Linked DNA regions of Homo sapiens: regions 1, 3 and 4 are each linked to region 2. Evidence: promoter capture Hi-C in 16 types of primary human blood cells and fetal thymus (Javierre and others, 2016). All regions are on one chromosome and are shown on one strand. Each heading gives the region's core, a stretch centred on a gene start or on the middle of the fragment in contact. The rest is flanking DNA. Distances are from core to core; before and after follow the strand shown.

Region 1 (3,031 bases), core at 337-2,836, 710 kb before region 2:
CCAGAGATACCTGTGCTGGAATCTTGGCTCTGCCCCTTACTAGCTGTGTGACGTTGGGCAAGCTGCTTCATCTTCCTGAGTTTCAGCCTCATGTCTAGAACAAAGATAACCATATCTATATCTTATATCAGAGAGCTATTTAATATTAATAGCTCTCTTTTGCAGCAGTGTTTGAGAATTGCTGGGTGCCATGCCTGCCACATAGTAGGCACATAATGATAAGTGCAGAATTTTATTTTATTTTTTGATGGAGTCTCACTGTGTCGCCTAGGCTGTGGCCTAATCTACAACCTCTGAGTGCAGTGGCCTGATCTACAACCTCTGACTCCTGGGTTCAAGCGATTCTCCTGCCTCAGCCTCCCGAGTAGCTGGGATTACAGGTGTGTGCCACCACACCCAGCAAATTTTTGTATTTTTAGTAGAGAGGGGGGTTTCACCATGTTGCCCAGGTTGGTCTCGATCTTTTGACTTCATGATCCACCTGACTCGGCCTCCCAAAGTGCTGGGATTACAGGCATGAGCCACCGTGCCCAGCCGAGAAAAAAAATTTTTAAGTGTTCAATAGGATTTGCTTTTTTAAAAAATGTTCTTAGTTTTGAGTTACTTGTATTTTTCTTATAAAGTAAAATATATAGACTTACATGATATTTAAGGATTATATACAAAATAAATTATATTATCATAGGCCAAAGCTATCATCTCTCAAATTACTTCAAAATCCTCCACAGATATTCAACCTGCTTCCATCAGGTTAACATATAATATAACATATTATATTAAATATAATATTTTAACATCGGTTAAAATATTATATGTCATTGCAGTATCACAAATTCAGTTTTGCCAGATTGTTCTATTTTACCTGTCTGACTAATAATGAGGTGGCTAATTGACAGTGAAGAAATAACATTTCTTCATGATTTGTAGAAGCGATGCTTGGTTGTGTGGTTGTAGGAAGTTGAGCTAAGTTGCTCCATAACAGCCACTGTGCAGTCCTCACTCCAAAGATTACACCCTATCATAATACTTTTTGCATGTCTGATACCAGAACACAGTTTTCTCTAAGACTTTCTTAATATCTGTTCTCAAAACCCTTTATACTCAGAGTAATACCTCAATCCTTAAGTTGAGTCAATACAATAATAAAGGTAGTTAAAAAGATGTCAATGGTTCCCACTGATTCTATGTACTCAGGGTGAGCTCTTGAACTGTCTAGAATTAGAATCTATTAATTATGGTTACATAATTTTTATATGCAATAGAAAAAATAAAAGGTAAAAAACATTAAGGGGAAGCAATGCTTTTTTTGTCTATGGATCACTTTAGCAACAAGTAAAGAAATGAAACTTTTATAAGCCCTAGGAAAATGAAAGCTTCCAATCACATAACCTTGTGTTCAGCTATAGTTCATGTGAGAACAGACACATTGCATCTATTCTTAAAGTCCACAGTCTGGCACCTATTAGTGGATTTTAGTAAGCTTTTCCACAAACAGACCAGTTTTATCATCATTTTAAAACTATTCAGGGCAGAATGATCTCACTCTAAACCCATGATACATTCTTTCAGAGTTGATGGTTTGATGCCCTTCCTATCAGTCATATCTGTCCTTCCGAAGCTATGTCTTAATGTGAAACACTGAAGCAACTCTTGAGAAAATATACTTAGAGAAGAGTATGTCCTAAAGCTTCCAGCAGGAGAATTTGAAATTCATGGCATACCTGAGCTCTATAACTCAGCTAGATCTATTGTACCGCCTGGAACACCTTACAGCACAAGTTAAGCTTGAGCTTCATAACCTAGGCACTGATTTTTTCCGACTTTAACGCAACACCATTTGAATATCATAATGCCTTTCGATGCTACTAAAATGAAGATTGGCTTGATCTTATACTAAATGTCATCTGTCATTCAGCAAGTGTCTTCCGGCTTCATACCTCAGTAGTCTTTAAAGCAACTGAAATCCAAAGGGTTCCTTCTGCTCCAATGGGCAAAAGTGTGCCACCTCCTCCTGTGTCACTGCAGCTTTCTCCTTCCCTTACAGACCCCAAAGCTCTCGTTGCCACCATGACCCTCAATGTGCCACCCAGGGTGCTCTAGCTGTGTCTTTCACCTCTTCTGTCTGTTGCTTTCTTCTGTCTGCCTCTTCCCTTCTCTCCTCCCTAGCCTATCCCTATTCTTCCCTTAGTTTTCTAAAGAGCCACTGGACATAGAACCATTATTCATCTATGGATGTATCTGTGTCTTTCTATTCCTACGCCATCAGGGTCTTGTCCCAATTTTTGGCTTATTGCTTTCTGTTCAAGAGCTGTTGCTATGTTACCTTCAGGTAATCTCTTTCCCTTCCTGCCTCCCTCTGGGGTTTGCACTGTGCCTGTTGTTCACGTTGACTGAATGCTGAAAGTCTAGCCCAGGAATAACTGGGGAATACTAAATCCGTTTCCTTCATCTTCAGTGTGGCTGACAAACGGTCTGTAACAAACCATTTTCTACAAAAAGGTCACCAGAAAAATAAAATCATTACCCATTTCCTTTGAAATGGCATGGCATATTAATAAGGCAATTATGATATGGATAAAATAGAGGTGTTTATAGTATAAAGGTTAAAGAACAATAGTAAACACTTAATGTACTTCATTGTCAGAGTAGTTTATAAAAAATCTGTAAGTATCAAAATATCTGTCTGAAGCTTTTTATGCATAAGACACTTCAGATTTACCATGTACCACATCAGCAGAAACTAGAACAGTGAGTGACGAATACAGCAAATGATAAAAGCAATAAAGGGGAAACTTGGAGAAAAAAATTAAAAGAAAAAGAAAAAAGAATACATATAGGAAATTAGACAAAGAAAGAAAAAGCTGAAGAAAAAGTGTATACACTAGGACTGATACACTAAAACGTATAAAATAAGAAGACAGGGCTGGATGCCGTGGCTCACGCCTGTAATCTCAGCACTTTGGGAGGCTGAGGCAGGCAGATCACGAGGTCAGGAGTTCGAGACCAGCCTAGCCAATATGATGAAACCCTG
Region 2 (2,994 bases), core at 114-2,613:
CCAATCTGCAGGTCAGAAAAGAGCACAGAATGTTGCTGTTAATAACGGGGCTAGAATTTACACTTATCTTTCATTCCACAGAGCTCACTTCTTTCTTAGAGCTTGCCATCACACCACACGGGGTCATTTACTTATCACCTACTCCGCGCTAGAGTACTATGCTAAGTGCGGAGGACGCAAAAATTAATGTCAAAGATAATCCTTGTTCACAGTATTCTGTCTAGCTTAAGAAGAGTTCTTAGTTGAATGAAAGCTAATTCTAACAACTTGTGTGCACTTCTTTTGAATAAAAACCATCAACTTATTTGAATTCTTAAGTTTCCTCCTAAACTCCAACATTTCAGGAGGAAGAGGTCACATTCTAGTCATCTTTGCAATCTCAAACCCAAAGGAAGCCTAACTTGGTACAGTGCATGGCACATTCAATGTCTGTTGAATACAAGTAAAGCTCATACTACCTAGTCTATTTTTCAGTATCTCTTGAGTTAATGACCTGGTTAACAAGTCAGAGTCACAGTCCCAAGGGCAACAACTTTTTAAAGGCTCCCCTAACGTACTTCAGGATCCCTGACTGAGAGTGGCTGACTATGGCAGTATATGGGCATACTAATCACTGGAGAAATAATAGCGAGAAATAACCAAGGAAAAGCACTACTCTCCAAAAACATTAAAAAAAAAAAACAACTGAACAACTAGTAAGAAAGAACGCTGGATCTGAGCACCCTGTAAGTCGCTTCCCCGTGGGCCGGGTAAAGGTTTTAAAACCCGCCGCCTCCAGGAAGACGGCCACGTGCACAAGGATTAGCTGCAAACTCCGTGCCCAGTCTGGCCGGGAGAATTGCTAAAACCGACCTACCGTTAACACCCGGGCTACTCTGAAATTAAGCAAGGCTGTAGTCAAGTAAGTAACCCAAGAAAAGGCGCACAGAGCCGCCGCCGCAGGTGTAGCCCGGGGACATCCCCTCCTACCTTGCAAACGGGGCCTGGGATCCGGTCCCTCTCTTCTTCCTCCACCTCCTCTGCTGTGGCGTGCCGCTTAGCTGGCGGCTCCGCATCTATTTCGTTTCTTTTTGGCTTCTTCGCCTGAACTGCAAAGCCTCCACGCCGTTTCCTCTTGGTTGCCGCCATCTTGCCTCGCCGCCCGCGCTCTTGGCCTCCTTTCCGGCGCTGCCGCTCGCTCCTATTTCCGATCTCTATGGTTCGGCGGCTCTAAGCGCTCAGCTCCGCGGTCGTCCTCCAGGTCTGTGCCGCCTCCTTCCGGTCTCGGTGGCGCGGCACGCGCGGCTCTCTAGGCCTCCTTCAGCTCTGTGGTGACGGTGGCCGAGGTGGAGGGCCGGTCTGAAGAGTGGCGGGACTGGCTTCACTTCCTCCGCGGTTCCTCGGAGCCGCCTCGCTCCTCTTCAGGGACTTTGCTGAGAAGGGCTCTCGGGCGTCCAGACCCCACCGCAAAGGTAGGGTTTCCGCACTCGGGGACCCCGAGACTAGTAAGCGATGCTGTCCCGCGGGCGGGCTGGTGAATGGGGTTGTCTGGGACTCTTGGAGGATTATCTGGACACTCCGGGCCCGCCCCGCCATCGCCTGTTTTGTTGGAGGCGGGGCTGGTGGCGCGGGCTGCACAAAACCGACTCCCCGCGGATTTGTAGCTCCTGTTTGGCCGGGAGATACCGTGTCAGTTGCGTGTCTTCATTCTTCACAACTTTTCACGTTATTGTCCTCTTACGGAGACGAGGAAACCGTAGCTTAGATAATTTTCCTCCAGAATTACAAAGATAGTTAAGTGACATAGGTGGGGTTCGGCCTGGTCAGCCGTGTTCAGCCTCCCAGCCCCTTTCCACCTCTCAGCGCAGGTGGAGCTCGCCGGACCTCGCCAGCACTGATGGGAGTTTTACTGTCTAATCCCTTCAGGTGTTTGGCGATCCGCCGAGAAGTTGTTGGCCCCAGGAGCATCCCTCGGGGCCGAATGCGCAGTGGACGATGCCCCTTCTGACCCAACAGATCCAAGACGAGGATGATCAGTACAGCCTTGTGGCCAGCCTTGACAACGTTAGGAATCTCTCCACTATCTTGAAAGCTATTCATTTCCGAGAACATGCCACGTGTTTCGCAACTAAAAATGGTATCAAAGTAACAGTGGAAAATGCAAAGTGTGTGCAAGCAAATGCTTTTATTCAGGTATGGAAGTAGGCGCCTTTAAGCCTGTGCCATAGATACTCTAAATGTAATTTAATGAAATCGGAAGGTTTCAGTAGACAAAATAACTTAATAGTCATAATAACTTGTCAATAGTCATAATAAATAACTTAATAAATAAATAATAGTCTTAAGTTAGAGAACAAAACGTCATTACTTGAATTTTTTTTCTCTCCCGGTAACAAATTCTTTTCCCATCTTGTTTTACAGAGATAATGGTTAGTAATGACTAAAGTTTATTAAACTAGGCTATTGGCTAGGCTACAGTCTTCTTATTGTTTAACTTATTTAATCTTAACAATAGTCCTGTAAGGTAGGTTCTGTTATTATTCCCGTTTTATATATGTGGAAACGAGGCACAATTTTAAGTGATTTGCCAACAGTCCCACAGCTGGTAAGTGGCTGAATTGGGATAAGAACGCTGAATATTTGTTTCCAGAATATATGCTCTTTTTTCCACTGCGATATGCTATTACTAAAGAGTATTTTTTTCCTTTACTGGTTGTAATAGAATTTTTGTTCTTCCAAAGTAATATTTGTGTGGTTCAGATAGGATTGCAAGTTCAACTAAGCGTTTTTTAACACGTAAGTGCACAGCATGATCTCAGGGATAGAGAGGTAAATAAGACACGGTTCTTGTCCTCATGCAGGGGCATGGTATGGTGGCTCACACCTGTATTTCCAGCTGCTCAGGAGACCGAGGCTGAAGCACGAAGATCGCTTGAGCTCAGGCATTAAAGACCAGCCTGGGTAATCATAGTGAGACCCCCGTATCAATAAAAAATCATAATAAAAGTTGAAACT
Region 3 (3,161 bases), core at 384-2,883, 920 kb before region 2:
AGTCAAGTCCCATTCTAATATCTGATTGAAGAAAGCATTACTAATAAAATAATCATACTTTAGTATTCTCATATGAATAAGTAGAATCACAGAATCAATACAGGAAGAGGTGAATCATAGAGCAGATGATGTGATTTGAAGAATTATATGTCGTTCATGGGACTTTAGTGAGATTGAAAATCTCTTACTTCACATTGTCAAATACTCATAGATGTGCCCATGCAATAGAGATCTGTCTTCTTTGAAACTGGACTCTATTTCATAGAAGCTACAAGTGTTTTGGAAAGCATATTTGACCCACCAGACACTGCGGCATTCTCTTTGGGTGTGAGGGGTTGAACGAGATCATTGCGTGGTTGGATGAATGGGGGCTGGCTCTTCAAGGGTGTGGTTATAGGCAATGGGTCTACTTGTGTGGCTAAAAACCAAGTTTTAGTATTGATAGACAACTGGCATGCTTTGTTTTATTTAAGAAAAGAAATAGCTGATGTGCACATGTAGGGAAAATATGGGTATAGATGCCAAGAGCTTGAGTCACCAGAGAAGAAACATAGTGAGGGACTAAGGAGAGTGGGATGCTGCACAAGTTGGCAGTGACATATGCCATAGATCTTTGTGCGAACTGAGAGTCCTGGGCTATCTTACTGTGTGTATTGTACCACATAACAGCCTTGCTCCAAATTCTCAAAAAATCTGCAGTAAAAATCTATATTAGTGCTACATGTTAAGAGAGAGAACAGACAATAAGAACAACCATGTATAATAGAAACTATCTTATCTGACCTTCCCATAACTGACTCTTCAGACCTGCTGACCACCCAAGCCACACTGCTCTGACCAGTGGAGTTGTTTATTTACCAAAGACAAATTGTGTTTGTCTGCAAACTTGTTTACACCAGATGTAATTGTTATTATAATTATACAGGTAAGTTAAGTACTAGATCAACTGGTGAACTATCAATATAAAATAAAAATGATCATTTCTATAAGACATGTTAGAATTATTTGAAAAGTAAAGTTGAGGCCGGGCACAGTGGCTCACACCTGTCATCCCAGCACTTTGGGAGGCTGAGGAGTGTGGATCACCTGAGGTCAGGAGTTCAAGACCGGCCTGGTCAACATGGTGAAACCTCGTCTCTACTAAAAATACAAAAACTAGCTGGGCATGGTGGTGGGCACCTGTAATCTCAGACACTCTGGAGGCTGAGGCAGGAGAATAGTTTGAACCTGGGAGGCAGAGGTTTCAGTGAGCCGAGATCGTGCCACTGCACTCCAGCCTGAGGGACAAGAGTGAAACTCCATCTCAAAAAAAGGAAAGAAAAAAATTGTAACAGATTAAGTATGAGAGAATTTTTAATGATTAGTATAAAAACGTAAACATGTAAATGCACTGTTCACTCAGCTTCACAACAGGATATTACTCCACTTAAGAGAAAGTTAAACTATAAATTATTAGATGAGGCCTTATGAAATACAGGGAAAACAATATCAATCTCCAGTAAAAGGAACTATACTAAAAGAAAAACTATTTAGTCTTATACCAACATATTAGAAATGAATGCATATTAAGTAAAAATGTTCAGGTTATGATTTTTTAATGATTTTACTCTTTATCTTCTTATTTTCAGTATACTGATCAATTTCCACTTTGATAGGAGCGTTTCTGCAGCAGTAGTTTTTGTTGTTGCTTACTTTGTGCAGGTATTTATTGTTTTATGTATGCGTCACTACAACTCTTGTAAATTGTAGTACTATTCTCATTTTACAGGTGAAGTATCTAAAACTTAGGAAATTTAAATAACCAGCTCAGGCATACAGTTAGAATATACATAGCAAGAAATAAACAAATAAAACAATTTTTAAAAACCTTTATACTAGACAAAATTCTTAAATTGTAGTATTCAATTTTTTAAAAAAATTTACTGTACAACAGGGACTAGATTTCAAGGATATGCAAACATTTTAAATATCTATCTGCTCATGATACGAGGGGATGAAGCAATTAAAACAGATAACCACAATACAACATGGGAAAGGCTAATAACCATTAGAGAGCTATCAATCACATCAGAGATCATTTACAGGGTGGTAGGAAGAACCTGGCTGTGCAAGCCACTCCACTCAGTGCAAGCCACTCCACTCAGCCTCAGTTTTCTCATTTCAAAAATGCAGATAATAATACCTTTGTAAAGGGCAGTTATGAGCCTTAAAGCATTTAGCAGGAACCTGGCACGTAACAGGTATTCAGCAAACGGTGGCTATTATTGCTGGTTGATCCATGATATGTGCTTTCTTTGTTGTCCTCAGCATCAAAGGTTGATTTTCCTACTTTGCTCCCTTTATTTGATTTCATGCAAACCTGGGCTCTTCTAGTCAATCACCAAAGTCAGTCAATTCAAAATATTAACTATCAAACCAGTCTTTCTTTGGAGATCAGACACACAATGCACTGAACTCTTCCCCGGTCAGCCACCCGGTCTGGTGTTATGTGGATAGAGCACCTGCACTGTGTCCCAAATTAACACGGTCCTAGGAGGCTGCAAGAGTGGGTGGCCAGGGAAGAGGAGCAAGGCTGCTCACTCTCCAGACTCATTTCAAAAACGCATTTTATTGACAGATGGAGTATGTAAAGCAATCAGTCTTCACTGTGGTCTGAGTTACATTGATCTTTCTTTTTTATATTTTGTGAGTTTTTAATTGACTCTCATTTGGTCAAAAAAAAAAAAATAGATGTTTTTCACTGTCTGTTTCCCTGTACTTTGCTGTAGTGTTTTTCCCCCTCTTTGTGTTCACACCGATCTTGATTCACTGTTGCTCAGAACTTTTTCTCCTTTTTGGTAATCAAGATGATAACTCATTGCTATGTTTTGCATTCACAGATGAACTAGGATATGAGATCTAAGTGCATATTTTATGATATTTAAAGTTAAAATTATTCAGAAATTTTAAATTTCATCACTTGGCATACTTAAATTTTAAAAATTTAGTCAAGATAATAAAAAAGAATGTCGGAAGTGTCTGCTTAACGCTAACCACAGATTCCAAAGACTTCAACAACTTGAATAGTCTCATTTCTTCAAAAGTTTAGTCATAAAGCATCACTTTCAGTCTTTCTCTGATTAACACTGAAAAAAGAAACCATTGCCACCACTCCTTTCCCT
Region 4 (3,143 bases), core at 369-2,868, 870 kb before region 2:
CTCTGCCGGTAGTACGCTCATAGGAATGATTCCTAGGATAGGTGATGGAAAGAATGGTTTGCTTTCTTTTACTCATACTGTTCTTATGCTTCTAAAGTATGGATCTTTGTTAAGTGGCAGGAAAAATGCAAGTGTAATCAACTGTTTCATTGCATTTTGCATGATCTAATTTGATTATCATGTATAAGGTCATTATTTTTTCTGGTATATTTGTGTTAATAATAATCAATAAATAATATTTTATGTCTAATCATTACCTTTACCAAAAGAGAGGTAGAATCATCATAAGTGGCAGAATTTGACCAGAAAAGGAGTGTTGAATATGTTACAATATATGATGCTTTTCAATTTTATGTTATCTTTAGTAAGGGCTATTTTAATGGAGACTTTTGTTTTCAAAGGGATTAACCAATACTTAGCAGAAAACCCCTTAAGCTTTAGTTCTTTCCATTTACATCTTGATACTATCTAGTTGCAAGTATTTAAAGCATTCAGTCATTGTTCTAATCAAAGATTAAATAATAATCCAATACTTGTATTTGTGTGGCATGATTAAAACATGCAAAGTGTAATTTAGTAACATCAGTGCTTTTTATAAATCTGCTAAAAAATCCTACCATGGGCCTAGTAACATAATGGCTGTTATATGCAAATAAATATGTATGCTTCCCTCCCAAAAAAATCCATCTGTTTTAATATATTTTAGTGAACTTGAAAGTTGCATCTTAGATATTATGGATTGCATGGGCATATATGAAATAATATAGGAAAATGTTTTTATTTCTTGGCATAGAAATAATAGCAAGTTTGAGCAGGAAGTTCTGCAGGATCACACATTTGAAACACACATGTTCAGCCAGCTCCTCCACACTTTCAAACCTGCTATCACTCACTAAGATTGTGTTTTGAAATTATAGAGTTCTAGGGTAAATACAGTGGAAGGTATCATAAAGGATTGTTTTCCATTTCTTGGAAGAAATACAACAAAAGCCTTCATTTAAAAGACGGATGGGTGTGTGTCATGTTTCTTAAGTGAACAATTGCCAAACCGGGGTAGAAAAACAAAAAAGCCAGAGTATACTTTGTGGGGCCAGAAGAGATGGGGAAAAGGGGTGAGTGGCAGTTAATGGGTTTCCTCAGGCAGGGCCATTGTCAATGTTTGGAGCCTGATTTCAAGAGTATCAGTAGAGAACCTCCAATTCTGTGACTCTGGGATGCAGAAAAATGGAGTAATACTTTTCCCTGCCCTCTATAAGAATAGCAAGAATAATAACAATGAACGTTACTCCTGTCAATCAAATTCCCAACACTTATTAATTATTTTAGATATACCTAAAAAGCAATATATGCAATATATATTTTTTCAAATGGTATAATTGAGCTAATAGAGAAAAGAGTTTAAACTGTTTGCCCATAGACCATACATAACTCACTTTGAATCATCACAATCCCCAAATCCTACCGTATTGTATAGCCTTGTAAATTCTGTGGTAATTACAACTGTTATTCTTGCATATGGGTTAATTCTCCAGCTTGGGTGGGAGGAGGTGGTTCCTCACACAGAGAAAGCCTCCTCTTCTACTCGCCTGGAGTTCATGCAGTTGGAGAAAGAAAAGCAGAGCAGTCTCCTAAACATTTCCCAAACATCATGCTCCTATCCTCACGCTTCTTGTCTACAGAGTTTCCAGCAGCTGTTCCCCTAACTGTAAACATTCTCTGTAGCCTTGCCACAAAATCTCTTTACCCTCTTCAATTTCTCCCTCCAAAGTTTTGCTCCACAGACTTTTCCCTGACCAATTTCAGGGCACACTGATGCTTTGCATTCTTGAGCACTTGAATAACATTCATACTGTGTCCCAGAAAGAACTCAAATAGTTGTTCATATTTCCTTCCTCTTTGCTTGCCTTTTCAAATTAAACTCTCAGCTCCTAGGGCAAATGGTTTCCTTTTACTCTGCTTTTAAAAAAATAAAAATTAAAAAAAAAACAACTCCGTTTCTCCCTCCCTCCCTTCCTTTACTTCCTCTCCCTCCCTTCTTATTTCTCCCATAGTCTGAAAACATTTATCTGTTGACATCTTTGTGTCCCAAGGGTTTCTAGAGTTAATCTTCTGAGACACATGTCAAGTTATAGCTGCTATTTTTTAAAATTTATTTTTAAATTTTTAGTGGAAATATGAGCTCTGGATTTGAGGTTGGATCCAAGAAAGTATTATGATTAGCATCATGGATACTAGGGTCCCTGCTGAAAGATATATTGTAAGTGGATGATAATTTTCAAAATCCACTTCTACCTATTCAAGTGTCCCCAGATGCCTTTAGTTTTTACCTATTAATTGAGTGATTTCCTCCCAGTCACCAGAGTGTAGGATTAAAGCAAACCACATGTCATGTTTAGAATCCACTTACACTTATCTTTTTATTTTATGTGTAAAATAATGGCCTGGATAAAATGAAGAGAAAAAGCAACTCTGAAGAGGGAAGTACATAATAACAGGGCATTGTGGAGCTCGCACCATGTAGAAGAGGGTGCACTCTGTCTGACTAAAGGACTGAAGGAATTTCATGGACTGATTTGTAAAGTCGAGATTTTTTGTACCTGCTGATGGCCATGTTTCCTTCGTGCCCAAATGCTGCCAAATGGCACCTCCGTCCCTCCACAGCTGAAGTGTGGGCTTTTATACCTTGGAGCTGTAAAGCCTGCTCTAGCTGATTTGATGAGCTGACACATCAAAGCGCAAGGTTCACCCAGGCACACACACATACACCAATTTCACCTATTGGGCTTGGCAAGGAAGCTTTCGGACTTAGAGTAATGCTCTTTTTACTAATGATATATGATGTGAATTTCTGGAAATACTGGACTTTTTTAAAAAGTAACATTGTATTAATACTAAAGTCAGTTGACTATGCTACAGGGAAAAGTAATAATTTCCCAATAAGTAGTATATGTTGAAAAGTAAAAGAAATCTGCTTATGAGAGGCAACTTAGTTCAGTGAGAAGGGGCAAGAACTTTGGATCTGCAGAGTTCTGAATGATATATGACCATAGGCAAAAAATCTGCTAAACTCCTCTGTGAGTCAGTATCTAGACCTTTAAAGTGGAGATGATAATCCTATGTGATCTGTCTGAATTACTTGTGCT

What was found. The method cuts DNA at HindIII sites, captures the fragments that hold promoters and counts their contacts. A CHiCAGO score of 5 or more calls a contact.
Region 1: a fragment that was not itself captured here is called in contact with the fragment with the promoter of RAD1 in region 2 in 1 of 17 cell types (total CD8 T cells); the score reaches 5.3 in total CD8 T cells.
Region 3: a contact is called between a fragment that was not itself captured here and the fragment with the promoter of RAD1 in region 2, in 1 of 17 cell types (activated CD4 T cells). The highest score is 5.4, in activated CD4 T cells.
Region 4: a fragment that was not itself captured here is called in contact with the fragment with the promoter of RAD1 in region 2 in 1 of 17 cell types (activated CD4 T cells); the score reaches 5.2 in activated CD4 T cells.

Annotation. Positions count from the first base shown.
Region 1 is chr5:35,624,825-35,627,855 of GRCh38, reverse strand. The region is part of intron 1 of SPEF2 (sperm flagellar 2); the gene reads right to left. Among named protein-coding and RNA genes, the nearest start is that of SPEF2, 8.5 kb to the right of the region's middle. The HindIII fragment of the contact is 207 bases long and covers 1,483-1,689 here.
Region 2 is chr5:34,913,873-34,916,866 of GRCh38, reverse strand. It overlaps RAD1 (RAD1 checkpoint DNA exonuclease), which reads left to right and starts at 1,363. Exons shown (of 6, transcript NM_002853.4): 1 at 1,363-1,451; 2 at 1,906-2,172. The coding sequence starts at 1,975. BRIX1 (biogenesis of ribosomes BRX1) reads right to left here and starts at 1,156. Exons shown (of 10, transcript NM_018321.4): 1 at 970-1,156. The coding sequence starts at 1,128. It also overlaps a transcript of TTC23L not described here. RefSeq lists enhancers at 568-1,173, 748-1,647, 1,668-1,727, 1,174-1,779. The HindIII fragment of the contact is 14,569 bases long and covers 1-2,994 here.
Region 3 is chr5:35,835,949-35,839,109 of GRCh38, reverse strand. No RefSeq gene overlaps it. Among named protein-coding and RNA genes, the nearest start is that of IL7R, 19 kb to the left of the region's middle. The HindIII fragment of the contact is 5,067 bases long and covers 1-3,161 here.
Region 4 is chr5:35,779,988-35,783,130 of GRCh38, reverse strand. The region is part of intron 30 of SPEF2 (sperm flagellar 2); the gene reads right to left. Among named protein-coding and RNA genes, the nearest start is that of IL7R, 75 kb to the left of the region's middle. The HindIII fragment of the contact is 2,361 bases long and covers 438-2,798 here.